Regions from separate parts of the Homo sapiens genome. Here regions 2, 3, 4, 5, 6 and 7 are each linked to region 1. The links are contacts of gene promoters, found by promoter capture Hi-C in human tissues and cell types (Jung and others, 2019). All regions are on one chromosome and are shown on one strand. The core of a region is centred on a gene start or on the middle of the fragment in contact, and the rest is flanking DNA. Distances in the headings are between cores, read along the strand shown.

Region 1 (4,078 bases), core at 767-3,266:
AATACGCTACACAGATAAATTGAATACTGCAAATCTGAACAGATTTAGGACAGATTTTATGGGTGAGGATGAAATTCAAGAGTTCAGAAGTAGCTCCTTATGTTTTTGTTTTGTTTTTGTTTTTTTTGAGATGGAGTCTTGCTCTGTCACCCAGGCTGGAGTGCAGTGGCATGATCTTAGCTCACTGCAACCTCTGCCTCCCGGGTTCAAGCAATTCTCTGCCTCAGCCTCCCAAGTAGCTGAGATTACAGGCGTGTGCCACCACGCCCGGTTAATTTTTGTATTTTTAGTAGAGACAGGGTTTCACCATGCTGGCCAGGCTGGTCTTGAACTCCTGATCTCGTGATCCACCTGCCTTGGCCTCCCAAAGTGCTGGCATTACAGGCGTGGGCCACCACGCCCAGCCGTTCCTTATGTTTCTATAGTCAGAAGCATGCAACGATGCAATGCATCTCCTCCCCATGCACAGAGATCCACACAGAACCCTCTGCATGAGGAGTGCCACTCAGTGACTGCATTAGGCCTAACTGCTTGCCTCTGTCATCATCAGCTTCAGGTATCATTTATTACCTACTGACTGTATGATGTGCTCTGTGTTAACTCCTGTCTTCTGTTATCCCTTTTTCATCCTCTCAGCAATCTCATTTAGAAATGAGGAAACTCAGCCTCAGAGAGATGAAGCAAGTTGCCTGAGGTCACACAGCAAGTTAGATGCTGGAGCCCAGGTGGAAATCCAGGTCTGCCTTTCTATTTCAAACTCTTATTCACCACACTGGGAAACCACTTTGATAATGTTGCAATGCCAAAATGAAAGAAAACTCCTCAAACTACGTGAACTAAATTCTCAGTAGCCTTTACTAAGCATTTCTATCAACACAAATCTTGCGCAGTGAGGAGACAAAAGATGCCCCTTCATCGTCAAACTCATAACTTGGCATTGAACTGTTCGACTTTAAGATCCTTACAATTTCTTAAATGCTATAATTGTGAAGTCTAGTTATTTAAAATGTTTTGTATATAAAGAAAATAACTTTTAAAGGTGATTCCTTACTGCTTATTTCACTGGGCAATCTGATATAAGGTCTTTTCCTAACTTGGGTGATCAAAACACTACTCATTCAGGCAATAGATGCTGATTCCCCTTACAACAAAATGCAGGCTAAAATTAGCCAAGCTGGTTTTCCTGCATTCCTTTCCTATCTTTCTGTGCCTTCATTTTTGAGTGAACGTCTAGTCTGCAGCAAGCTGTTACTTGTCAAGGATAGCAGCAAACTTCAGCCGGGAAAACGCATCTAAGGAGACCAAAACAAGAAGCAAAGTTACTGGCAGAGTGCTGAAAAGCCCTTCGCAGACAGTCAAAGAAACGAAAGCATGGAGGGATGGAGAGCAGGAAGGAGGAAAGATGAGGGGGAAACAGTCCCCGACCCTTCCCCTGGAATATCTGAAGGTGCTTGGTGTTCGAAGGCCACCCGACCTGTCTTTTGCCAGCTCTGCAGGATCCTGGGGCGGATGTTGGGTGGATAAAGCATGCCCCTTACTCCCATTAAGGCAGCACCTGCGGCTGAACTGAAAGTTTATTTTGCGGCCAGATGCGTAGGGCCGGAGAAGGTGGTCACATCCAGACGAAATTATTTTCAATCAACAGCTATTTAAGTACAAGAGGCTGCAGAAAGAAAGGGGCTAAGGGGGCTCAGGAGCCACTGGTGCCCATGAAAGCCTCCCAACCTCTAGCTCCCCAGCCCTAGCTCCGGAGCACCCACCTCCTTTCCAGGAGCCCGTAGCGTCCAGCCTCGCAGTCGCGCACGTGGAGAGCTGCGTCCCTACAAACTACCCCGGGCCGAGCCGAGGAGCGGGCGCTGGCGAAGTGGGGAGCGGGGGGCGCCCAGTGGCGGCGGCTGCTCAGCTAAGGCTGCGGCAGGTGAGGGCTGGAGCCAGGGCGAGCAGGCGAAGCTGCCTCGGGACCTCCCACGGAGGCTCGGTGCCTGCCCCCAGCCTGGCGCGGCGTGCCCGGTGCACTGCACGGCCCCAGCGGCCCGGCTGAGGGCAGCGCGCAGCGTGGCAGGCGAGGGCACGCCCAGCCCCGGGCCTGCTAGGTCTCGCTCCCGCGGAGAGGAGGCGCAGTCTGCAGATTTTTAAGGGCAAAGGGTGGCCGAAGGGCTGCTCGGCGGAGAGAAGGCGGCGAGAACCCGGGGCGCACGCTCAGTATCTGCAGCTCCTCTTGCGATGTCTCATCCTGACGCTTTAAGGCCGCCTCCAGTTTCCCTGTTCCCCCAGGCCCGCCGGGGACTAGCCCAGATGATTAAAGCCGCGCCACTTCCCCTCCTTTCAGGCATACCCATCACTCACACCCCGGGGTGCGTCCAGGCCCAGGAGACTCCAGCCTCCCGCCTAGAACAGCTGCCTCCCTCAGAAAGAGCCCCGGAGCACTTGTGGTCAGGGAGGTGAAGGCAACGACAAAACGATTCGTCTCTGAGTAAGAGGGTGGTGTCAGTCTCCAGAAGGCTGAGGCTCCCGACCAGGGGAGACTCCAGGAGACCCAAGGGCAGGCTGCATGCGGAAGTCTGGGCCACACCTGGTATGGCTCACCTCAGGATCACCACCGGTCCCGCCAGTCGCCTTCCTGTTGGATTTATTTTCAAAGAGGGCTGGGGCCACCCAGGAAGGGTGGGTGACCTGGGCAGTTTACACAACCTCTCCAAGCCTCCTTTGTTCATTTAATCACATTTGTTGAGTGCTTACTGCTCTACAGGCCTCCCAATGGGCCTGGGCTCAGAGAATACAGTGGTTAATAAAACAGACATGGAAATGACAGTTTCCTCATCTGTGAAATAGGTACAGAGATAGAATGCGTGCTCTTCCACGGAGGGATTTCATGCAATATAGTACAGGCTTTAGCGATTTGCATTAAAAGGCTTGTGAACACTTAAATTTTAATAAAGAAGTTATAAAATTTAGAAGTTGAATCTGTTTTCGCTTAAACATTACCATATTCAGGAATTATTATGGGTTTGAAAGTACATTTAATTTAAAAAGGTTAGTTGAACATTGTTGGCAAATATAGGATATTATAATTGAAATAAAATCATTAAAAACTTGAAACAGAATGTCTTCACTTGGTAGCGTTTGTCAACGATGGGAAGGGTCATCTGGTCCCACTTCCCTACCTCTTAACATCATGAAACCCTGCTTATGGCCCATTAGAACTTAGACTGTGGTCAGTGCGCGCGCGCGCGCGCGCACAAACACACACACACACACACACACACACACACACACACATATATTTTTTTGAGATGGAGTCTTGTTCTGTCCCCAGGCAGGAGTGCAGTGGCACGATCTTGGCTCACTGCTGCACCCTCCGCCTCCCGGGTTCAAGTGATTCTCCTGCCTCAGTCTCCCGAGCAGCTGGGACTACAATTTTTGTATTTTTAGTAGAGACCAGGTTTCATGATGTTGGCCAGGATGGTCTTGATCTCTTGACCTTGTGATCTACCTGCCTCGGCCTCCCAAAGTGTTAAGATTACAGGTGTGATCCACCGTGCCCAGCCTGTGGTCAAGATTTTATGTGTGACCTTGAATTATGGCTCTATCTATTCATACCAATATGGTTTTTCTCTTTTCAATTGAAAATATCTGCATTGTGCTAAAGAATTCGACTGGTTTTAAGCGTTCTTCTTGGCCTAGGTTAATTTTTAAACTTGTAATTTTATGTAGTGACTTGTGTGTATATAAATGTGTATCATATATATACACACCCATACATATACACAATATATATAGATAAGAGCACAAATCGTGAATGTATAGCTGATGAGTTTTCGCAAACTGAACACACCTGTATACAGAGTATATAAAGACACTAGCGTATAAAGAGTGCCCAGTTGAAGAAACAGGACATCACCAGTCCTCGGAAGCCCGTTAGTGACCCCTTTTAGTTATTCCTTTCAGTTATGATCACTGCCGCTGCCTGCCCCTACCCCCGACCCCAGGCCCAGGATAACCATTATCTTATCTTCTAACTCCTCAGAAGGGTTTTGCCTGTCTTTGTACTTTATATAAATGGAATCAGACCATGTGC
Region 2 (4,078 bases), core at 869-3,368, 1.9 Mb after region 1:
CTCCAATGACCCCTAAGTGCCGTATCCATTTCTGTTTCCTTCACCTGTTACTGGCATTGTTCATTCACTGCTGAATACCACTTCTTTCTTCCTTGTGCTTGGCTTTTATGACAGGAGCTCTCTGGACTTCTTCCTACTGCTCTGAGCATTACTTCTCCATTTCCTTCACTCACTGTCTTCCTTGCAGATGTCCTAATGTTGGCCAATCCCAGGTTCCATCCTTGACCTGCTTCCCTTCCCCACCATACATGTTCTCTCTAGATATATTTCAACTTTTACCTCAATGCTGAGGAATTCTCAATATGTATCTCCAGTCTAGATCTTTCTTCTGAACTCTGGATCCTGACATCAAACTGTACCTAGACTTCTCCATTTGGAACTGGGAAGGGCAAGTCACACTTATCTTTTGCATTTTTGTCTCTATCTTCCAAACCTCCTCTTATTTTAATGGCTCCTAATCATGAAGGCAGGCAATAGCTTTTACTAGTTAGTTACACATGGCCTGTTGGTAGTCATCATAGACTCTTCCTTCCCACAGCTAATCAGTCACCAAGTCCCACTGATCCTACCTCCTAAGTATCTCTGGAATTCACTACTTTCTTTATCTTTCCCCTGCCTGTACCTGAGTCTCTCTGGCCTCATCACTCAGCATGATCCAGCTATACCTGTGGTCCAGCCATAAAGAACTAGTTCAAAGTTCTCAAAAGGTAGCTCATTCTCTCTTGGGCTTTTTTATGCTATCTCCTTTAACTGGAAAGACTTTCTCTACCTTGTTGGCTTAATGCATTCCTACTTAGATATTAAGAATTACCCCACCTCTGATATCACCAGAGAAATCTCTGACTTCTCCTGCCCACCTACGCCTGACATTAGGACCTCTGTCTCTGCAGCACTCCAGGAAAGCTTCTCTTGTCACAGCTCTCACTCAGAGCACACCAGCCTTGTTTCCCTCACATGTTAAGCTGAATGAGTGGCAGTCATGGAAGACAACTTAGAATTCCTGGTACACATCTATTGATTTCTAATATTTGCAAGATTAGAAGATTATTTAAACTTACTGAAAAAATGCTGGGAGAGTGGTGACAAAGAAGCGGCCACTCAAACCTACAAGAAGCATAAACAGAACAAAAGTTACACTTAAGTCCTCCAAAAAAAGCATTCTTGAGCTTACTTTCATAATCACATTATTAAAATCACTGCAATTGTTGACTCACATTTACTATTTTTTTTGACTTACAGAAATTTCATTTCTACCTATTTTTATTACCTAACACTTTCTAGTAACTGACATACAACTTGCATCACTTGGATTGTAAGGAGGCTGAAAGGATAGGATTTAGAGTCATGCAAACTGGGGTTTTGCAAAGTTAAATACCGACTTACCCATTTATTAACTTTATAACTTTAGATTATTTAACCTTTCTTAGTCTCAGTCACCTTTTTTCTATAAAATGGGTATATAAAAGCCTAACTTAATGGTTCTAAAGTTAGATTAGGGCAAGTGTTATTAGGCTTAGCATGGTGCTGGGTACATAGTGAAGGACTCAACAAACTATAGGTATGATTACATCAGTTATCAGTTTAAAAAGAATAAGTAATATGAAATGATTAAGATCATGTATAATGTTTGTACATTTATAAAATCTGTAAGTACCGTAAAGGGAATATATGTATGTGAAAAATATTTTTTCCAATTTGTTTTAGCAAACCTTTACTGAACACTAAGTACATATCAAATGCTATGTTATGTGCATGTAAAGACAAAGATAAATAAAACCCTTAGTACCTCAACAAATATTTACCAAGCACCTTCTTTGTTCCAGAGACTGTGGTTACCACTCAAGACACATGGATGAATAAAAACATGTACAACCTTTATTCTCACAGAGCTTATAGTCTAGTAGCAGAAGGAAATAACTTATTCAAATAATCACAATCACAACCACAAACAGAGAATGAAAATATTTAAAAAAAGGGTAGGTATGCAAAAAAATGCTGAATGAGACTAGGAGTAAAGAACAGATCCTTGCCCTTTAAATGTTACAAATAAATAATATTTGCATGGGCACCAAGAATAAGTAAAGAGAATGAAAGCTTAAGGATCCTCCTGGCCAACATGGAAAAATGACAGAGGCATCATTTTAACATTTTCCATCACAGCTGCCTTTCCCACTGTAGAACAATGTGGACAAAATCAAATATCCATTCAAATTAAGTTGCTCAAATCACACATCCCTGTGGTAACTTGCAATTCAAAACACTGAAGCTTTACTTTTAATAACATGGAAAATTTACTTTCACCCATTTTATAAATTAAATCCATATTCAACATAATTTAGTAACAAATGATGCGTCTTCTCAAAGAATTCTGTATTTTATTTCATTTCAGACCAAGTGGATTCCAAAACATCTCAATTGTATTTAAAAGGAAACACAATGCTCTGGATTAGTAAAAGTCAAAGTCACAAAAAGAAACATTTACTACAAAAATTTGTCATTGTACATTGGAAAAAAAAGTTTTGTCACCAGTAACATAAACACGAGTGACCCAAAAATAGGTCAACTGAGGATTGTAACAAGCACTTCTAAGCGCATTTTCATCTCTCACATTGCTCAGGATTTCACCCTGGAGGGAACAAGGGTATCCTACAGTATACTTCCAATTCTAACTTGCCAGGGGAAAAAGTACTGTTATTCCTAAATACTTAAAAAACTAGTATATGCCTTTGGTTTAAGATAATTATTATGAACAGCTTCATACATTACTTCTTACCTAGCTATAGTTCCTTATGACCAGCCAAAAATTTTATCTAAAGACAGTTACGGTATTAAGAATGTATATTTCATTTGTATGTTTTTTTAAAATGGAATGAAGAAATTAAATAGTATCTCATCACCTCTTAAAGTTTTTTACTTAGATTTTATTTTTATCAGAATAAAGAGACAAGATTTCTATTAAATGTTAGGTATCACTTAAAGTGATTTTTTAACTTGCTCTTTTGTATGTTCTTAGTCATCACTGGCTATGACAATAAATAAAGAAGTAAATAAATAAGTAGAAAAATATTTCATAAAACACATTTAATTATACAATATATAAAACATTTCCAGATTCAGGAGGCTTTAGTCTTAAGTCTTTTAGAAATTGCACCTCATTTCAGAAAACATAAATTATCTTTACAAATAAATGTACTCATGAAAATCAGTGAGTACCAAGAAAAAGTATCAAAGTCACAGATGGTCTCTGAGGTTTTTCTGCATCTTTCTGGTTCTGGCTAAAAGGAATAACAGGAGAGTTCTTCCCAAAATTGCTAGATTAAAGGGTATAATAACTTTATGTCTCTTGATATGAATTGCTATGTTGTTTCACTGACTACTGTACCAATTTACAAGGCCATCAATTAAGGTTTATTAAAATAAAGACCAATAAATCATATCACCTCAAGATTACTTTCATTTATGTTTGTCAATATTTCTTCAAATGACAGCCTATGTGGAATATTAACAATGAGGTTGCAGCACCCAACTCAGACACGAGTTCAGTTTGCTGTCTGGAATAATATTCTGTCATATAATGATATATTCAGTAAAATCAACAACAACAAGATCCAGAACAGTCGAAGTCTTCCTTGGATGATGACACGCTACTAAATCCCTGTAGATCCAACACCATAAGAAATTCATCTCAAAAAAAAAAAAAAGTAACTTCTGGGAGGCTAAAAGACATCCGAAAACTCTGGGTCTCATCTCAGTACTCCAAAAATGTCTTCTAACCTTTAACACTGATTCTATGACGTGTCCAGGAAAATTTTCATTACCTGAAAATTAAAACATGACCACTTGGAATACAGAAGCACCATCTGAGGTTGTGGCTTCAGGGTTTAATAACATTAAGTTAAATGTGGATCTTGACAAAGAATTTGAACATCATAATAGCAGCTTGTCTCAGGATAATAGTTCAGTGCAATAACTTCAGTAAGCTTGGAAGAAACAAGTATACTCCTAAGCTTTTCAGTAAAAAGGATAAAGTTAGGCCACAAAGCCTTCCAAAATTTCTACATGCCTTTTTTACTTTAAG
Region 3 (4,078 bases), core at 1,052-3,551, 1.7 Mb after region 1:
ACAGATATTTGCAGTGAATGCTACAGCTCTTAAAGGTGGCGCATCCAGAGTAGTTTGTTCCTCCCAGTGGGTTCATGGTCTCACTGACATCAGGAGTGAAGCCTCAGACTTTTGCAGTGAATGTTACACCTCATAAAGTTAGTGCGGACCCAAAGAGTGAGCAGCAGCAAGATTTATTGTGAAGAGCGAAAGAACAAAGCTTCCACAGCATGGAAGGGGACCTGAGCTGTTTGCTGCTGATGGCTCGGGTGGCCAGCTTTTATTCCCTTATTTGGCCCCGCCCACATCCTGCTGATTGGTCCATTTTACAGAGTGCTGATTGGTCCATTTTAAAGAGTGCTGATTGGCCCATTTTTACAGATTGCTGATTGGTGAGTTTACAAACCTTTAGCTAGACACAGAGCGCTGATTGGTGCATTTTTACAGAGTGCCGATTGGTGCATTTACAATCCTTTAGCTAGACACAGAACACTGATTGGTGCGTTTACAATCCTTTAGCTAGACAGAAAAGTTCTCCAAGTCCCCACTCGACCCAGGAAGTCCAGCTGGCTTCATCTCTCAAACTAGCACTACTTCACATCCATTTTAAGTAAAATTTAGGTTGCAATATTTAGTTTATCTCCAGTTTTTCTTAGATGTTCTACATCTCTTGAACAAGGTAGAGAACAAAAAAAGGTGCCAGGAATTTCTATTACCTTTTTTCTATACCCTAATTTTGAGCGTTTGTGCTGATTAAATACAAAAAATATAAATATTAGTGATTAAGTAAACCTAATAAATTCACTTGATTCAAACATAATAATTGATTTTAATAGTTATCATTGTTTTCATTATCATTATCACACCATCATAAGTAAGTGACAACACTAAAATATTAGAAATTATAAGCAGATTATGTTGGTGGTAGATTATGTAGAATTCTTCCTGAGCATATCTTATAGTAGTATCTAGTCACTTTTTATAAGATGAGCAAAAGAAATAAGATGGCAGCTGGCAGGAAAAAAAATGTTTTTGAAAACACCTCATCAAGTACCTACCACAGAGATAATTGTGCTTTGACAATATCTTAAAGTTCCTCTCAAATTCTAGTACAAAAGTTTTTGTTACAGAGCCTGAATTCAGTTACATCTTGGATATACACAATACTATGTGATCTGTTTCTTTGTTGTTTGTCATCTATCACTCCAAATGACACATATTTGGTGGTAAAATAGGAAGACTTTTAATTCATTATTCCAGAGATAAACTGTTCCCCTTACTGAGTTTTCCACTTCTCAGTTCATAACTTTACAACCTAGAGCAGAATATTTTTGTCATGTCTATAACCTTCCCCAAAAATGTATAGAATTATCCTATCAATATGGTAGCCATAATTTCAAATTAAATAAAATTAAAATTTCAGTTTAGCAATTGCACTAGCCAGATTTCCAGTGCTCAATTGCCAACTATAGCTAGCAGCTACCATAACTGGGAGAACGGTTTTATAATTCAGCGAGTTCTATTGGATAGTGCTGAATCGTATATCAAATGCTGTCCAGTTACTTGTTAAAACCTAATTTAAAGCTAAGATTTTAATAACAGTGTAGTTTTGTCATAACATTTAATATTTGGCTTACAAGGTAGCTGATGTAATTTAAGATAGAATTAAATGCAATTGTTGCTAAAATATTCCACTCTGTTGCCACACTCTAGAAGTTATCTACAAATATACTCACAAACAGGCTGCTTTACTGGGTAACCAGGGTTTGAATTAGCCCTGCAGCATTATTTATTGCTGTGTAAGGAATCATTCCAAAATTTAATAGTATGAAAAGGCAATAGTCATTAATTATCTCCTATGATCTCTATAGGCCAAGAGTTCAGGAGCAGCTAAACTGAGCAGTTGTGGCTCAGAATCTCTCATGAGGTTGCAGTCAGATGCCAGCTGGGGCTTAGCCATCTGAAGACTCAGTGGTGCTGGATGATCCATTTCTAAGGTGGCTCACACAAATGGCAAATTGGCTCCTCTCCAAGGGACTTCTTGAGTGTTTTCACAACATGACTAGCTTCTGGAAGAGCTAGTAATCCCAAATACTAAAGCAAAAGCTGATATACCTTCTATGACCTAGCTTTGGATGTCTCATACCATCACTTCTACCATATTCTATTGGTCACACAGGTCAGCCCCAAGTGATTCAGTGTGGTGAGAAGCACACAAGGACATGAGTATCAGGGCACAATTGTCAGTGGAGGCCATCTTGGAGGCCAACTACTACCCTACACTCAGCCCACAGTGTTTCTTGCTAGAGTATAGGGGTTAAGCACAAAGAGTGAAAGACATTACCAAGGAATTTAGTCACACTGTCTCGTGCCTGAACATAGATTTGTCTAGTGATTCCCCAAAGGAAGCTCCATGTTTCATTCACCCTTTGAGCTTTCCTCAAATGATCAAGATACTGGAACACTTCCTGCTCACCAGCCTTCCCCACATGAAACACATTTACCACATAAGGACAGGAAACTTTACAAAATCAGATCTTTAATTGTTTTGACCTTAGCTGCAAAATGGAATGTCTTGGAGGTCTTTTTTAAAAAATTACTGATACCTAGGTCTCACCAGAGATTGTAATATAATTTGTCTGCATGCAATCCAAGAATTAGAAATCTGAAAAAGACCCCCAGGTGATTCCAATGTTCGGTGACAATTGAGAACCACCAATTAGAGGAAGACCCTTCTGAATGTTCTTTTCTGTGACTCCTCTCCTTCTTTAAGTGTTTCATCATACTTCACAGCCCTTAGTTTCCAAATTCTGGCTCTTGTTTTTCAACACAATCCCTGAGAAAACTCTTCACTTCCCACAAAAGTTGGAGAATATCTTGGTCATTTTCAGCATCTAGTTACCTCCATTAACCCAAGATGCAGCTCATCTTTACAGAATCCCAAGGGGCAAAAACTGGTTCTAGTTTTAAGACCAGAGAAGAAAATAGAATGTTTGAATCCACTTCAGGCCTTGACTGTAGGATGCTGCAAATAATTTTCTCACTATTTACCTAAGAAATAACCACACCTTATCAAAAGGAAAATTAATATTTACCTGAAACAACACAGTTCTATCTAACATAAGAAAACAAGTTCCTCCTGTTAACAAGACCTTAACCCTGCTCCTTGTGAAATAATAAATAAATCACCTCAGCATGATGATGTTAAGGCACATCTGATCCTTTCAAGATCTGGCTTATTTTGCAAGAGAAACAACAGTAGTAGAAAAAGACTTCTATTTTAGCCATCTGGACTAGTGCTAGCAGTTCTATCTATGTGGTTTCAGACCTTCATAATCTGTGCTCTTATAAACAGAAGAGAGGTGTCTCACTTTATTACACCACATCATCAAACAGAGACACTCCATATGTCTATCTTCATAGGTATTTTCGGAAAAAAAAGATCTAGATATCAGCAATTCTCACAATTTTAGCTTGCATATGAATTACCTGGGATCTTGTTAAAATGCAAATTCTGAGTCATGAGTGGGAACCGAATTCTGCATTTTTAACAAGCTCTGGGAGACATCACGTTGCCAGTTCACAGACCACACTCTGAGTATCAAGGATCTAGATACTATAGATAAATAAGAATAATAACTACAAAGCACTTTTCATTTCTTCCCTTTGATCTCATGCTTGTCCACAGAATTAAAATGGTTTTATCTCACCTCTCCTCCCACTTTTTTATTCACAAAATCTATAATATTTAGAGAATTCTATTATTCTTATACTTTTCCTCTTTTTTTATTATGGCAAAACGTCTTCTGAACTTCTTTGTGTTATAAGAGTACAGATGAGTTTGTGAAAGAAAGACTGATAGGAAACAAATCCAAGATCCCACAAAAAGGAATTAAATCTTCTTTACCAACCAGACTAAATATTTCACAAATATGTGTTCTTCTAGAATTGCTATCACAAAACATATAGAACATAATACTTACAAAATGATTCATGCCTGGGAGTATTATGGTTACATGATAGTCGGTAGTTTACTGGCTGTATTGCTTTATTTTATTTTAGTAGCCAATCTATTATTCAGGTCTTTAGGACACAGGAA
Region 4 (4,078 bases), core at 539-3,038, 1.7 Mb after region 1:
GCAGAGCACCTTTTCATATACATGCTTTTCATTTGTATATTTTCTATGGTGGAGTTGTAGTTTCAAATTTATCCAAACAAAAAGTACACAAAAGAAAACAAACACAAATCTCTAGGTCCATTTAGTTTTACTGACAAATTCTGCCAGGCATTTAAGAAAGAAAGAAAGAAAACCAATCTATACATCCTCTTCCAGAAAGTGAAAGTAGAGGATATGCTTTTGAAATCATCCTATGAGGCCAGCATTATCCTAATACCAAAAGCAGATAGAAGCATTACAAGGAAAAACTGCTATAAACGTTTATTGTTCACGAATATAGACACAAACATTCATAACAAGTATTGACAAATAAAATTTAGTAATATATGAAAAGCATAACAAATCACAATTAGTGGAGTTTATCCCAGGAATGTAAGGTGAGTTCATCATTCATCATTCAGTCATTGCAATTTACCATATTAAAATTGGAACATTAGTACATGCAGGAAAAGCCTACAATAAAATCTAACATTATTAATGAAACGTTCACATATATTAACAATAAAAATGCTTTCAAAATACATTCTTATATTCTAATAAGAGATATGTATAAAAAAACCTACAGCTAAAATAAAACTTAGTGGTGAAAAACTAATTGATTTTCTCTTAAGCTCTACAAACTTTGGTCTTTGATGTTGGTGAGCTTTGGATGGGGTTTCTGTGTTTACGTCCTTTTTGTTGATGTTGATGCTATTCCTTTCTGTTTGTTAGTTTTCCTTCTAACAGTTAGGCCCCTCTGCTGCAGGTCTGCTGGAGTTTGCTAGAGGTCCACTCCAAACCCTGTTTGCCTGGGTATTACCAGCAGAGGCTGCAGAACAGCAAACATTGCTGCCTGTTCCTTCCTCTGGAAGCTTCGTCCCAGAGGGGCACCCACCAGATGCCAGCCAGAGCTCTCCTGTATAAGATGTCTGTCGACCCTTGCTGGGAGGCGTCTCCCAGTTAGGAGGCACAGGGGTCAGAGACCCACTTGAGGAGGCAGTCTGTCCCTTAGGAGAGCTCAAGTGCTCTGCTGGGAGATTTGCTTCTCTCTTCAGAGCCGGCAGACAGGAACGTTTAAGTTGGCTGAAGCTGTGCCCACTGTCACCCCTCCCACCAACTGCTTTATCCATCTTTCTGTTGATAGGCACTTAGGTTGCTTCCAAATTTTGGCTATTGTGAGCAGTACTGCAACAAACATGGAAGTGTAGATGTCTTTTAGATATACGGATTTCCTTTCTTTTGTGTATATACCCAGCAGTGGGATTTCAGGATCAAATGGTAGCTCTATTTCTAGTTTTTTGAAGAACTGCCAACCTGCTCTCCATAGTGCTTGTACTAATCTACATTCCCACCATCAGTTTAAGAGAGTTTCTTTTTCTCCACATCCTTTCCAGCAATTGGTATTGCCTGTAAAAACCGCAATGAAAAGCCACTTCATACTCACTAGAATGGCTATAATCAAAATGACAGACAATAACAAGTGTTGGCAGGATGTGGAGAAATTGGAACCCTCATACCTTGTTGGTGGGAGTGTAAAATGATGCAACCAATATTATTTGAAGTCAGTCTGGCAGTCCTTCTAAAGGTTAAACATAGAGTTACCATATGAGCTGGTAATTCCACTCCTAATTGTATACCCAGGGGAAATGAAAACATATGTCCACAAAAAAAAAGTATTCACAAATATTCATCTCGAGCATTATTCATAATAGCCATAAAGTAGAAACAACCCAAATGTCCTTCAATCGATGAATGGTCAATAAAATGTGTTATATCCATATGATCACATATTGCAATTTTATTCAGCAAGAAAAGTAATAAAGTGCTGATACATTCTATAATGTGGTTGAACATTGAAAACATGAAAAATAAAAGAAGTCAGGCATAAAAAATATACAAAAAACTGTATTAAATGATTTTACTTATATGAAAAGTCCAGAATAGGCAAATCTATAGAAACATAAGTAGAGTAGAGCTTGCCTAGAGTTGAGGATTGTGGGTGTAGGAAAGATGGATAGTGATGCTAAATGGATATCGAAGTTTCTTTGTGGGATGATTAAAATGTTCTAAAATTATATAGTGGTGATGGTAGTATAAGTCTGTGAATGTGCTAAAAATCACCAAACTATAAATGTGAAGTTGGTGAATTTCATAGTATGTGAATTAAATCTTATATTTTTTTATTTTATTTTTTTTTTTTTTGAGACTGAGTCTCAGTCACTCAGGCTGGAGTGCAGTGACACGATCTGGGCTCATTGCAACCTCCGCTTCCTGGGTTCACGTGATTTTCCTGCCTCAGCCTCCCAAGTAGCTGGGATTACAGGCATCTGCAGCCACACCCGGCTAATTTTTGTTTTTGAGTAAAGACGGGGTTTCGCCATGTTGACCATGCTGGTCTCGAACTCCTGACCTCAAGTTATCTGCCAGCTTCGGCCTCCCAAAGTGCTGGGATTACACGCATGCACTACTGTGCCTGGCCATGAATTAAATCTTAATAAAGTGTTTAAAAATCAAAAGAAAAGAAGCTGACATTTTTTGTCCATCAGACTGCAAAACCCTACAACCATATCAATGGGCTTATAGTTCCTAAGTGTGTAATTCCTCCCTGCCTGGGCCTAGAAGCTCCCTATCTATCCACATTCTTAGCCAGAGGTTTCCTCTTCTTATCTCATAATACTATTTGCCTAGTTCTCAGAGACCCCAGAGTCTTAACTGTCTCTTTCTGCCTTTCTGTCCCAGAAAATTGTGATCAACTACATAGTAGTGATGGGATTTTATCTCAGGACTTCCAGACATTTAATCCACATTTCTCTTTGAAATATAATTATCTGTTTGTAAAACATTAATACAAAATCAAAACAAATATTTAATTTATACTATAAACTGGATATATTAGAATAATCGTTTGCATTCAAGTTAATTTATTTTACATGAAATTTAAATGCATCTTCTACCTTCTGTCTACAAATATTTAAAATGCTTATAAATGAATCATTAATTAAGACTTGCACTACTCTAGGGCTTCTAAACTGATCTTTGTGTCACCTCTGGCCTATGCATACCTATGTAGTTATAATGTCCAAGTGCATGGACTTCTACCTAAGCACCCCCTCAATCTGGAACTGCATCAAGATCACTTGACTTGTTAAAACACTGATTGCTGGGCCCCACTCTCAGGGATTCTGATTCAGTGTTCTCCAGGTAGAGTGTGAGATTCTGCATTTCTGACTAGTTCGCAGGCAATACTGATATTGCTATACCCAGACCATACTTGAAGATCAAGGGGCTACAGCACTAGCCCCTGTATCTCATACTCAAGCCTCAGTCAAAGCTTACATTTATCACTCAGAGGAAGCTTCTGTCAAAGCAGTTGTTTAATAATAAGTTCACATATAGCAGTCCATCATGTTTTAATAATCGCATATTACTGCATTACCTTTATATGATACATTTTGGCCTTTTGTCGTTTGACTTTTACAATTACAATAAAGAATGTTACCAATTATAAGATATTGTTTGCAATTTATAACAAAATAGTGCCCTAATAATTCACTTTCAGGTTTTTAGTTCAGTTAATCTTAACACTATAAAACAAGGGTTTTTTTAAAAAAAAAAAAAGTTAATACATGTAATTATGGTTTCAAATGAGTGGAATTTTCTTGACTTTTTAATCAAAACAAATAATATAAATAAACTGAATGCTGACACATTTAATGAATTAAATGCTATAACTGCTAACCATAAAAGCCAGTAACCAATATCAAACATATCATTATGACCCTACTATTATTATAATATTATTTTAAAAGTGATTTTTTTATTTGAATTCATACAAGAAATTGTAGGAATAAAATGTCACATTAACAGTTTCATATACCAAGTTCCCTATAAACTTTTATTTTTAAAAATGCTCTGTTTGAGAAAGAAAGATGAAGAGAGGAAAGAGGACGGGAAAGGAGAAGGAAGGAAACAAAAATCATTGATCCAGAGCAGTGCTTCTCAAGCATCTCAAGTATTGATGTGCTGGGGAACTTATAGATCTTTTTGGGATCCTGGTCAA
Region 5 (4,078 bases), core at 765-3,264, 1.5 Mb after region 1:
GACATTAGTCATTTGCCAAGCTCATCTGGATTAATGAAAGTCTAGAGCTTGCAATCAGCATACAGAGAGAACAATGAAGGTATGTCTGTAAGTAATGTCAACTTACTCCTGAACTTGTAATACCCAGACTTATGCCTGCTTTGCTTTTAAATCAAAACATAATTGACTGTTGCGATACAAAGATTTTTTTCCACTGCAGCTGTTGTTCTAATAGCTACCATAGCCCTACACAAACCATAGCCCTACACTAACCATAGCCCTACACTAACCATAGCCCTACACTAACCATAGCCCTATTAATTTTCACAAAATAAGCAACAAACCTCTTCATATATCTGGCTCATTAATTTCTGATGGAAGTAGAGCTCCTTTGGGCAACTTTGAATGGAGTAAATAGACTCTTAAGTGGAAGTGAATGTTGTCATTTCTGTTGGTACTCTCCATACAACATATGGCCTGAAAAAATGAAAGCTTTTAAAGACCTGTGGGGAGACTTTCCAATGGAGTAAAATCATTGTACTCTGAAGCACTTTGCACTTTTTCCCAAAGCAAATAGTTTATAACATTTAATTCTCACAATCATCCTGTGAACTCAGCAGAGTAGGTGACTCTATGTCTAATCAACAGCTGTGTAAACTCAGCCCCTATGATTTGCCCAAGATTAGAAAGATTGACACAACAAAACAGAAGTCCTGGGCTAGAATGGTGCCTTCTCCACTGTATAATCCTTTAAGACGATAATATGCCAGGAGGAAGTCAATAAATGGTAACTGAAAGATCCAGAATAAGCTCAAATGTTCCAGAAATAATTAAATGCTAATGAAGGACTAGAGTTTTCTTAGCTGGTGAGTTAATTGTTGAAATGAGTTAGTGAATAAGCATTTTCAAAATACTAATTGAAGACAAAGAAGAAGAAATTATCAGCATCATCAAATCCTACAATGAGTGTCTAAAAATCTCAATTTATCTCTACAACTTTACTCAATGTCACAGAAGCTTCTAATAAGGGCTTGAGATGACAAAATACCTAGACTCTATAGTTAATAAAATTACATTCAGATCATGCTACTCTCCAAGTAAATCATTCTTTAAATGTTACCTCAAGTTATGGCCTCATTGGTGCTTTAAAAAACACAAGCAATATACAAGAGGTAATATATTAAACGACTTAAGAGAACAGATTTGTAGAATTGCTTTCTGGAAGGATATTTAAGCTTTCTAGGTATACAATTTATGATATTTAAAATGTGACTGGTATTAGTTTTAAACAAGTTAATGTACATAAAACTTACTTTTTGCCTGGAAGATAGTCAGTGCTCAATACATGTTAGCCAAACAGCCTTACTAGTATCTCTTACTCTATTCTATGTGCCTCTAGAACTGAATCAATGCTATCTATCCTATGACCCAATATTGAAAGAAGTGAACCAGATTTCAGTGGGTTCTTTCCTCCCTGCTTTGTCAGAAAATTGTTAGATAAGTGGCATTGAAGATCAGACAAAAGCCTCTTTGTGTGGCTTTTCTCCAGATAAAATGAGAAATAGTATCCAATATAATCAGCAAGATAAATTAAAACTTGAATTGTCCCCAATGAAGGAAAGGTATCTTTCATAACTGCTCATTGTAAATAGTGGCATCCTGCAGGAATCCCTTTTAAATATTTACTCCCAGAATCAAGTTATTAAAAAAAGAAAAAGAAAGAGAGAGGAAAGGAGGGAAAACAGGAAAGGAAGGATGAGGCAAGGAAAGACAAAGAAAGAAAAGGAAAGAGAGAAAGTAAGTTTGAAAAATTAAATAGCATTCCATTAGCTACAAGATCAATGACTTTTCCAAGTAAAGGAAAGGATCTTGGACAAAGCCAGAAATCAAAACCAAAGCAAAACACAAACAACAATTTTGAAAGGGAAAATGTATTTATAACATATTAGTCTTTCAAACCTATTTTGTCAGTTATTTTCCAGTGCCACTAATAAAGTAAGTGGTAACACAGGAAGAAAAACAATACTCTAGGGCCAACTATTTTTTCCTATCATGTAGTCAAGGCTTTTAGACACAGGAAGATTCTGTGTTCTGTGGAGAAGTTATAATACAATAGTGTTTGCAAGTGAGGTTCATCCCACTTTGGGGCAAAAGATAAGAAAATGGGCACCTTGCTCATGACATGGAATTTCATTCTTGAATGACTTGGTTTGGAGACTCTGCCTTTTTGGGGTGATATTTGCACAGTTTGCTTCCTTTAGAGATTTGACTCTTCAACATATTTTTGAAAACATTTCATGCCATTACAGAGTAGAAAAAGGAGAGAATGGAAATTTGAGCTAGAGCCGTGAATAATTTATCCTAAACTTCCAGGAGATTCCGATTATTTGATATCTTCTTCCTGAGCAAAGAATGCTCTTGTTAAGGAGGCTTGGTAAACTTATCATTCTCTTTCTAATGTCCTTTTGTGTAGGCTTTCATGGGAGGGATGCTGCAGACAGATAGACCGCAGGTTCTTTTAGACAAGAAATGGGAACTATAGCAGAATGTTTTCTAGGATTTGGCATATTGAAATAATTCTTGTGTGCGCTCTAAATCAGGATCCTTCAGTAACGGTGATGATGATGATAATGATGATGCAATAATATTTACTAACTTTTTATTTTGAGCCAAGTTTCATTGTCAGGGCTTTGCATGCAATATCTCATGTAAGCCTCACAAAAAGACCCATGATCTGTATTAACTTTATTGGATACCTGACTAAACTGAGCAAGGAATAATGATGCAGAACATGGTACAAGCCTTTGTTTAATTAATGTAGAAGTACTAACAACAGAAAAATACACAAAAAATGGTCCATCGTGTGTATGCTACAGCTTAGCTCTCAAGCTTTTTTTTTTTTTTCCTGAGATTGGGGAATGGTAGGACCATTGAGAATACATCAACAACTGAAATTATGGCTATCAATGACTCTGGCCAGCCTACTCAAAGACATACTTCCCATGACCAAGTGGCCTCTTTGCTGCTGCCAGAAGATCAACTATATTGACAAAAACAAAATTACAGAAGCAAGATTTACTGTTACCAGACTGTTTGTAATTTTTCCTTTCCATTTGCTCCTCTTTTATGATCCCTCCTTTTTTTCCATTGACAATCATCTAATTACTTTTCTCTTATTAGTATATTTGTAAGTACAAAATTATATATAAATTTCAGAAATTAATTATAATTTTCTGAGTTATTCTTTGACTTGCATCCTAGAAAGGTTAAGTATCTTGCACAAGTAATAAACCTAATAAGTAAGGGAGCATGTATTGGAACTCAAGCAGTCTTATTTGCACTAGATAATCTCCTCTACAAAAAAAGGTCTAAAGTTTATGTGCCTACAAAAAATATTAAGGAAGTTCCAAGTGAGAAAATGTTACCGAACACTGGCTCTAAAGTTACAAAATTAGTCTCTATCTCTCTCACTTTTTTTCTCTCTCTCTGACACACACACACACACACACACACACACACACACTTCACACACCTCATAAACAAACAACCCAGGTTTCATGTGATACCCTTTTGTGATTTCTATTCAATTTCAAGCATTCCTTTGATGTTTATTTCAGCAAGTTTCTGCAAAGAGCAAAGGCAAATATTTTTACAAAAACAGAATTGTTTTTTACAAAACAATATTTTTACAAAAACAGAATTTTTTAATAGTATTAAAAAATTATAATGATATTCATAGTGTGTAGGAGACCTCACAGTATGTGGGGGTGGAAGAAAGAACATTTGTAACTGGAGCTAAGGCAATGTGCATCATGTAGACATCCAGTGAAGGCAGGCAATGCCAAGCCACTCTGCAGTCTGAGAAGCATCACTCACTATGTCCACCCTTCCATGAAGATTCGCCATCTTCTCCTCCTCAGTAATTTCCTAAGGTCTTTATCTCCATCATAAAGCTCCACCAGCACCTTGTGAAGTCTATCTTTATAGCCGTCAAAGCACTTTTCAGCCATATTCTCAAGAGCAAACTTGCTGCACGCTGTTTCCACCTTCCCCTCTAGTTTCAGAGCTTCCAGAGTGCAATGTCAGTAGCCAATACCAT
Region 6 (4,078 bases), core at 920-3,419, 1.2 Mb after region 1:
CCAGATCTGTGAGAAATAAATTTCTATTATTTAAGCCACCTAGACTATAGTATTCTGCTACAGAAGATTGAACAGACTAAGACATCTATTAATGATTTTGATGCCCCTAACTTTACCAAAAGCATTGGCATCATAAAAAGAGAATGATTATTAATACAAATGGATCTTTATTTTTTTTTAAAAAAAGGAATGACAATACATTTTTTTTTTTTTTTTTTTTTTTGAGACGGAGTCTCGCTCTGTCGCCCAGGCTGGAGTGCAGTGGCGGGATCTCGGCTCACTGCAAGCTCCGCCTCCCGGGTTCACGCCATTCTCCTGCCTCAGCCTCCCAAGTAGCTGGGACTACAGGCGCCCGCCACTACGCCCGGCTATTTTTTTGTATTTTTAGTAGAGACGGGGTTTCACCGTTTTAGCCGGGATGGTCTCGATCTCCTGACCTCGTGATCCGCCCGCCTCGGCCTCCCAAAGTGCTGGGATTACAGGCGTGAGCCACCGCGCCCGGCCGACAATACATTTTTCACCAACATTTTATACAACTATTTTCAGACATAAGCCAAGTTGAATAAATTTTACAGTAAACACTTGCATATCAACTACCTAGACTCTAACATGAACATTTTTCTATATTGCTTTTTCACAAACCTATCCATTTATCGATCCCTCCATTTTTCTATACTTCATCTTAGTTTTTTGTACATTTTAAAGTAAATTGCAGATGTCAGGATGCTTTCCCCTAAACACTTTAGCAAGCATATTATCAACTACATTTCAATATGTCTTTTGAAGTGGAATGGAATAGTAAGCATATTTTAAATACATAGACCTGTGTAACCCAAACCTCTATCAAGGTAGAGAAAATTACCATCATCCCAGGAAGTTCCCTAAGAGCAATCTTCTGATGTTTTTCACCATAGATTTATTTTAGAATTTTATATAAATGAAGCTTATTGTACTCAACATAAGATTTCCAAGACTCAGACAATAATATAGACAGTGGTGCTTTCAAGTCTGCAGCAGTTTTGTTCCTTTTCTGGAGTCTGCCCTTTCAGAAGAGCTCATTGCTCCTCCCCTTAGTTCTTCTTGCTCCTCTTCCTACCCCCTGCTCAGTTTGTATCTCCTTTCTTTTTTTCTAATAAATACAGTTTCTTTTAAAGTTCTAGATGTTGTCATTGCTCTTACTTTGAATTTCTATAAGGGCTTGTAAAGCATTAGGATGCTCACACATCAGGAGGAACAACGTTTTATTCTTTACCATTGAACTAGTAATACTAGTTTTTCCTTTTAGGATGACTTCATTGAGTATATATTAAAAATAATGGAAAAATAGCAAAAAGGAAAGAACATATGTGATGAATCCGTGACCTCATGATATCTTATTGAGGCTGGGAGCATTTGAGGTCTGAGATTTTCTGGTATGCTCAAGGCCAGAGCAGCAACATGCATCCTTTCAAAATAAGGCAAGTTGTCACTTGTCTCTGGCCAGAATTGGTCAAGATCATGGGGTAGGTGATGAATGCTGCCGACGTCCCATGACACAGCTATTGATATGTGGCAAGGAGCCACTCATCTCTACTAAGAGATGGCATGTACCAGAGAGGGGCTGTGGGAGTAGATGACTGTCCACCAAGTAGTGTGTAATTCAAGGGATGTCTCAATGTCAAGAAGTTACCTTTGACGTCACAGATTGGCCAATGCCTTCATGTTATAGCAGACCATCATATTAGGAAAAGTCAGTCTTTCTAGATTGAATAAGGACAAGTCCAGGGTAAGCGACTACTCTAGAAACCTAACCTGTAATCTGAAGAAATGAAAAGTAAAATGTCCAGCAATAATACTTCGGGGGCCTTAAACCTCATATTTTCTTGAGCATCTTGTTTCCTGTTTAATTGTCACAGCTCAAATATTATGTTTTGCAAATGTATGTGGGGTGTATTTTATATGTTATACATATTAATTTATTTTCATTTATTCTGCTTGAAAATTTTTACATAAAATTAAAGTCTGTCATAATACTTTATCTTCTGTTTGTGGTTAGAGTAGGTGTCTTTACTTTCTTTATGATCTCTTTGTTCAGGTAAGAAGGGCTATACTGGAGTGAAATCATAACTTTAGTTACATCGTAACATTAGAAACGGGCACACTCTTGTAAACAACTGCAACAAATGGAGATTATGCTTACAGCATAAACCTCAGACTTGTGGGTATTTTCTTCTTTATGTTTTAATAAAAATACCGGAAAGGAAAGGTTTAAACTCACTAGAGTTATTTTGAGAAAATCGATTTCCATAAATATATTTTATTGCTCACTCATAAATTTATACTTCCCTTTCTCTCACTGCATAATTGGTTGGTTTCCTGCATACAGTTTAGCTCCATCGTTCATGTTTTGATAGGAATTTTATCCCTGGTATTTGTCTGTTCCAGCCATTCTTTCTTTCTTTTTTTAATTCATGAAGCCTTTTTAAAAATTATTTAATTTTATTTTTATTTTAAGTTCTGGAGTACATGTGCAGGATGTGCAGGTTTGTTACATAGGTAAAAGTGTGCCATGGTGGTTTCCTGCACCTACCAACCCATCACCTAGGTATTAAGACCAGCGTGCATTAGCTATTTTTCCTAATGCTTTCCCTCCCCATGCCCTCACCCCCCACAACAGGCCCCAGTGTGTGTTGTTCCCCTCCCCGTGTCCATGTGTTCTCATTGTTCAGCTCCCACTTACAAGGGAGAACATGTGGTGTTTGGTTTTCTGTTCTTGCATTAGTTTGCTGAGGATAATGGCTTCTAGTTCCATCCATGTCCCTGCAAAGACATGATCTCTTCCTTTTTATGGATGCATAGTATTCTATGGTGTATATGTACTATATTTTCTTTATCCAGTCTATCCTCGATGGGCATTTGGGTTGATTCCATGTCTTTGTTATTGTGAATAGTGCTGCGATGAACATACACATGCATGTATCTTTATAATGGAATGATTTATATTCCTTTGGATATATTCCCAGTAATGGACTTGCTGGGTCAAATGGTATTTCTGGTTCTAGAACTTTGATGAATTGCCACACTGACTTCCACAATGGTTGAACTAATTTACATTTTATATTTACTATTCTAATTTACTATTTTCTAATTTACTATTTCTCTACAACCTCACCAGCATTTCTGGTTTCTTGACTTTTAATAATTGCCATTCTGACTGGCATGAAACGGTATCTCATTGTGGTTTTGATTTGCATTTCTCTCACCATCAGTGAAATTGAGCTTTTTTTCGTATGTTTATTGGCCTCATGAATGTCTTCTTTTGAGAAGAGTCTTTTCATGTCCTTTCCCCACATTTTAATGGTTTTTTTTTCTTGTAAATTTGTGTAAGTTCATTGTAGATTCTGGATATTAGACCTTTGTCAGATGGATAGATTGCAAAAACTTTCTCCCACTCTGTAGGTTGTCTATTTGCTCTGACGATAGTTTCTTTTGCTGTGCAGAAGCGCTTTCATTTAGTTAGATCTCATTTGTCAATTTTTGCTTTTGTTGCAATTGCTTTTGGTGATTTCATCATGAAATCTTTGCTTGTGCCTATGTCCTGAATAGTATTACCTACATTTTCTTCTAGGCTTTTTACAGTTAGTGTTTTACATTTAAGTCTTGAATCTAACTTGAGATAATTTTTGTATAAGGTGTAAGGAAGAGGTCCAGTTTCAATTTCTTGCATATGGCCAGCCAGTTCTTCCAGCACCGTTTATTAAATAGGAAATCCTTTTCCCATTGCTTGCTTTTGTTAGGTTTGTTGAAGATCAGATGGTTGTAGATGTGCAGTCTTATTTCTTAGTTCTCTATTCTGTTCCATTGGTCTATGTATCTGTTTTTGTACCAGTAGCATTGGTCAGCCATTATTTTAGTAAAAAGCTGAAGCTCTTCACTACCTGAAGAATAAAATCCAAAATTCTTAGTATGGCATTCAAGGCTTTCCAGAAGCTGGCACGAAACTGTTTTTCTAATTTTTCTTCTGCTCCAGTATTTCTTCCCAGTTTCCTTCCACTTCTTTCACAGTTCCCATCATTCTTGCATTCTTTGTTGTCTCTGT
Region 7 (4,078 bases), core at 591-3,090, 1.1 Mb after region 1:
GAATAAATAGTTATTTTACAAAAATAAAAAATAAAAAAAGAGAGGTAGGAGATGGGGAGGTGGGGAAAAAGCGAGCATTTGCTTATTCTGAGCTTTCTAACTAGCAGTTTCAAGGTGCTAGGAAACCCACCCTAACCCTCACTCTTTCCAAGTGATCTTGTACCTTTTCCCATTCATTTGAAGAAAGTAGAGCAGGTTCCTGCTTTAGAAACAACTGCGTATCAGGCCTTTTGTGAAGAAGAAAGATTTCTTAGCAAAAGTATTTTGGCAGGAACTACGACAACTAGTGAGACCATCTATTTTCTTCCTGCTTTCTCCTTCAAGAATTGAAATGCAATCAGAGTATCCATGAATGAATCACACTATTTAAGATAGGGATATGGGGGACTTCTGAAGTCTCAAAATTGCAGATTGGTAAAAGTGGTAATTGGAGTGCTTATTAATTAGCCTGACCACATTATATGAAACTACCCTATTATATTTCTATAAGCTTGGTGAATTTATTTAGGTTTAAATAACTGGATCACACAATCACAGGTACACCAACTTGTCCAATTCATATTTTCCAATTCCCAATCCAATTGTTCTTCACAATTAAGACAGATAGACGCTGATTGTTTTGTTGTATGCTTCTGGTTTTATTATGTAAATAAAATAGACTTTGGTTTACCCCCTTCCAAGTCAACTGAAAGAAGACTCATCTACACAGATGGAAAGACTTACTGACTTTGTACAAAGCAAGACCAATCCCCCCATCCAGTTCAACCAACCTGCAAGTACTTAGACTCACCCTGTAAATATGGAAAGCACAATGATTCCACAGTAGTTTATCCAAGAGTATTGTAATTTTCAACACATTTCAATATGGCACATTATTAATCTAGAAGGAAAAGTGAAAAGGAAAGATGACCATCTTTATTGGATGGGATATTTCTTTATAAATTACCATTTGTCAGAAAGCTTTATTGAGATAAAGCTTAATTTGTGGTTTGATCCCTTTTTATTTTCCTTTCATCTCTTCTAATCCTCAAACATTTATTTGCCTCAGGGAAGCTCTATATGACAGGTTTAAAAGTGAACATTATTTTTAGACTACCTGGCTTTCAAAGCTCTGTTTTCCAGAAGCCTTGAAATCAGGGAAGGAGAGAAGGAGACACTCCCAGAAGGTGTTCTGGATATAAGGTGACTAGTAAAGAAGCTAAGACCAAAGAAAATTTTGCTTTCTCTTGTACTCAAGAGGGCAGAATCCAAGCATGGGCTGTTTCTCCAAGAATTTGAAAAACCCTGAGTTTGGGGCAGAACAGCACTCAGAGTTTGAAGATGCCAGTTATCAAGAGATTTTCAGGCTTGAGCAAGGAACAGTGTTGCAATATTTTGCAAAGAAAAATACATGACAACCAATTAAATTTGAATTTCAGGTAAATGTTGAATTACTTTTTAGCATAAGTATGTCCCATGCATTATTTGTGACTAAATGTTCATTTATATTTAAAGCATTATTTATACTAAAAATTATTCATTATTTTTATGAAATTCACAATTAGCAGGTATCTTAGTCTGTGCTAGTATAACAAAATATCACAGACTGGGTAATTTACAAACAATAGGAATTTATTGCTCATAATTCTAGAGTCCGGGAAGTGCAAGATCAAGCAACAGTTGTGTTGGTGTCTTAAGGGCTTGTTCTCGGCTTCCAGATGGTGCTTTATTGCTGCATCCTCTGGAGAAGAATGCTGTGTCCTCACATGGCTGAAGGGGTAGAAGAGCAAGAGAGTATTTCCTTCTATACCTCAGGCACCTTTAGAAGGGTACTAATCCCATTCATGAGGATGGAGCCCTCATGGCTTAATCACTAGCCAAAGGCAACACCTCTCAAAGTGGTTGCAATGTGGATTAAGTTTCAATACAAAAAATACAAATTTTGGAGCACGCACCATCATTTAAACCACAGCAGCAGGTGCCTTTTATTTTATTTGGAAACTATAAGAAGGTGGACTTCATTATTGATTATAATGGACTGATAGAGACATGTCCTAGCTTTCATATTTCAGATAGCAAATAAGACTTTGGGAATATTGGGCAAAATTAGGCTAGAGGAATGGCCCTATTCTATAATGGCTAAGACGTATTTTCCACTAACTGGACAAAAGGAAAACTCAAAAACTATTTAATTGATTTAAAAAAATAAACAAATTTGCTATTTCTTGTATATCAAATCTTTGAAGATTAATACTCACTATAATCTGAATCCCTGTCTGTTGGAGACATGTTTCCCAAGATATCTTGGGTAAGGCATATGGTCACTTTATTGTAGGTGGATAAAAACATGGGAGAAGAGAATCCTCAAGATTTGCTGTTTTTCCCTCAACAAGATAAGAGGTCATTTATCATACTATAAAAAGAGAGTGGGAGACTCCTGGAACCATGTTTCTGAAATACGTAAAGCTTGCTGTCACCAGAACCCTGGAGGTTTTTTTATTATCTTGTATATTTTATTATTTTTATTTTTAATTATTATTGATATATAATAGTATCTTTTTATGGGATCATGTGAAATATTAATAAAAGCATACAGTGTGTAATGATCAAATCAGAGTAATTGGTATACCCATTACCTTGAGTATATATTATTTGTGTTAAGAACATTTCAATTCCACACTTCTAGTTATTTTGAAAGATACAATAAGTTAACTATAGTCACCCTATTGTGCTACTGAATACTAGATATTATTTCTTCTATCTAATTCTGTTTTTGTACCCATTTACCAAACCATCTTTATTCAATCCCCACTTCCTATTACCCTTCCCAGCCTTGGTATCCATCATTCCATTATCTACCTCCATGAGATTATTCTTTTAGCTTGCATGTATGAGTGAAAACATGCAATATTTGTCTTTCTGTGTCTGGCTTATTTCACTTAATACCCTCCAGTTCCATCCACATTGTTGCAAATGACAGGATCTGATTCTTTTATATGCCTGAATAGTATTCTATTGTATGTATGTACTACATTTTCTTTATCCATTTATCCAGTGATGGAACTTAGGTTGATTCCATATCTTGGAACCATAAATTGGTTTTGATGGAAACCCATGTCTCTGGTCAATGAAAAAAAAATGTAGGTTTTTCTCTGTAAGCTGAATTATGTCACATGGTATACAGCAAATGCATTAAAATTAGGATGGCCATCTTTTCAGGAAAACCTAAACACTAAGTTCCTCTACATGACTTATCTTTCCACATATGTCTTCCTTTATAGTGAAAATAACCTGATACGAGATGGTCATGGATGTGGCCCACTGAACTCACCATGCCTCACATTCCCACCTGTGAACAGCAAGGGAGGAATAATATTATAGATAAGACACTTGTTTTTGGAATGGAGCACAGCTGCTGTGTAATGGCCCAGAGGAACCCCAGCCTGAGACCAGAAGTGAAGGAGAATCCCTGCCTCACTCAATCTGAAAGGGAAATCAAAGCAAGCAGATTCTAGTGTCCCAAGCATCAGGACAAGCCAGTCAGGAGGACTAACATCCCTTCTCTCAATGACATTATGCCAAGAGTTTTTGTTTTGTTTTGTTATTTTTTAAAATGAGCAACAGCCTTCAGATCCCGAGTTTAAAGGCCTGATGCAGGCCTGAGTCATTGGCACTGCTCTGTAACTCCTCTCTGTTGCAGGTGTGCTGCCGGGCTCCTCTGGGTCCAGCCCAAACGCCCTCCCCTTCCTCCTCACTCCCCTCTCTCCACCTGACAATTGTAAAATTTAAGGAGCAGATCCTCTCAGGGTGGTATAGCTTCAGGCACATGAATTCTTTCCGGGGCTCTTTGAGCTTGGAAGCAGTTTAAAGGTAAGAAGGTTTGAAGAGTGAATGAGTTCCCAAGAATAAACATGTTTCAAAGGAACCTGAATGAGGGACTCTGTTTATGCGGGTTTTATATGACGTTTGCTTACTTAATGTAGTAACTCCTTGAACATATTGCCTTGTATGATATAATTTATTTACATAATTCTGGATTGGAAAGTCATGAGCAAACCCAAGGAAAATTTCTAGAAAAAAGAAAACTTGTTTTTATAAG

The links. Contacts are between HindIII fragments. The study calls those that stand out against the background at their distance.
Region 2: a fragment that was not itself captured here is called in contact with the fragment with the promoter of FERMT1 in region 1 in 1 of the 25 tissues and cell types used here (mesenchymal stem cells).
Region 3: a fragment that was not itself captured here is called in contact with the fragment with the promoter of FERMT1 in region 1 in 1 of the 25 tissues and cell types used here (mesenchymal stem cells).
Region 4: a fragment that was not itself captured here is called in contact with the fragment with the promoter of FERMT1 in region 1 in 1 of the 25 tissues and cell types used here (dorsolateral prefrontal cortex).
Region 5: a fragment that was not itself captured here is called in contact with the fragment with the promoter of FERMT1 in region 1 in 1 of the 25 tissues and cell types used here (dorsolateral prefrontal cortex).
Region 6: a contact is called between a fragment that was not itself captured here and the fragment with the promoter of FERMT1 in region 1, in 1 of the 25 tissues and cell types used here (mesenchymal stem cells).
Region 7: a fragment that was not itself captured here is called in contact with the fragment with the promoter of FERMT1 in region 1 in 2 of the 25 tissues and cell types used here (dorsolateral prefrontal cortex and mesenchymal stem cells).

The regions. Positions count from the first base shown.
Region 1 is chr20:6,121,014-6,125,091 of GRCh38, forward strand. It overlaps FERMT1 (FERM domain containing kindlin 1), which reads right to left and starts at 2,017. Exons shown (of 15, transcript NM_017671.5): 1 at 1,761-2,017. RefSeq lists a silencer at 1,903-2,022. The HindIII fragment of the contact is 15,378 bases long and covers 1-4,078 here.
Region 2 is chr20:8,000,438-8,004,515 of GRCh38, forward strand. TMX4 (thioredoxin related transmembrane protein 4) reads right to left here. Exons shown (of 8, transcript NM_021156.4): 3 at 1,059-1,104. Among named protein-coding and RNA genes, the nearest start is that of TMX4, 17 kb to the right of the region's middle. The HindIII fragment of the contact is 3,749 bases long and covers 245-3,993 here.
Region 3 is chr20:7,834,296-7,838,373 of GRCh38, forward strand. No RefSeq gene overlaps it. Among named protein-coding and RNA genes, the nearest start is that of HAO1, 100 kb to the right of the region's middle. The HindIII fragment of the contact is 5,656 bases long and covers 1-4,078 here.
Region 4 is chr20:7,812,990-7,817,067 of GRCh38, forward strand. No RefSeq gene overlaps it. Among named protein-coding and RNA genes, the nearest start is that of HAO1, 130 kb to the right of the region's middle. The HindIII fragment of the contact is 3,145 bases long and covers 217-3,361 here.
Region 5 is chr20:7,657,751-7,661,828 of GRCh38, forward strand. No RefSeq gene overlaps it. Among named protein-coding and RNA genes, the nearest start is that of HAO1, 280 kb to the right of the region's middle. The HindIII fragment of the contact is 4,745 bases long and covers 1-4,078 here.
Region 6 is chr20:7,293,499-7,297,576 of GRCh38, forward strand. No RefSeq gene overlaps it. Among named protein-coding and RNA genes, the nearest start is that of LINC01751, 12 kb to the right of the region's middle. The HindIII fragment of the contact is 7,428 bases long and covers 1-4,078 here.
Region 7 is chr20:7,265,993-7,270,070 of GRCh38, forward strand. No RefSeq gene overlaps it. Among named protein-coding and RNA genes, the nearest start is that of LINC01428, 14 kb to the left of the region's middle. The HindIII fragment of the contact is 3,548 bases long and covers 67-3,614 here.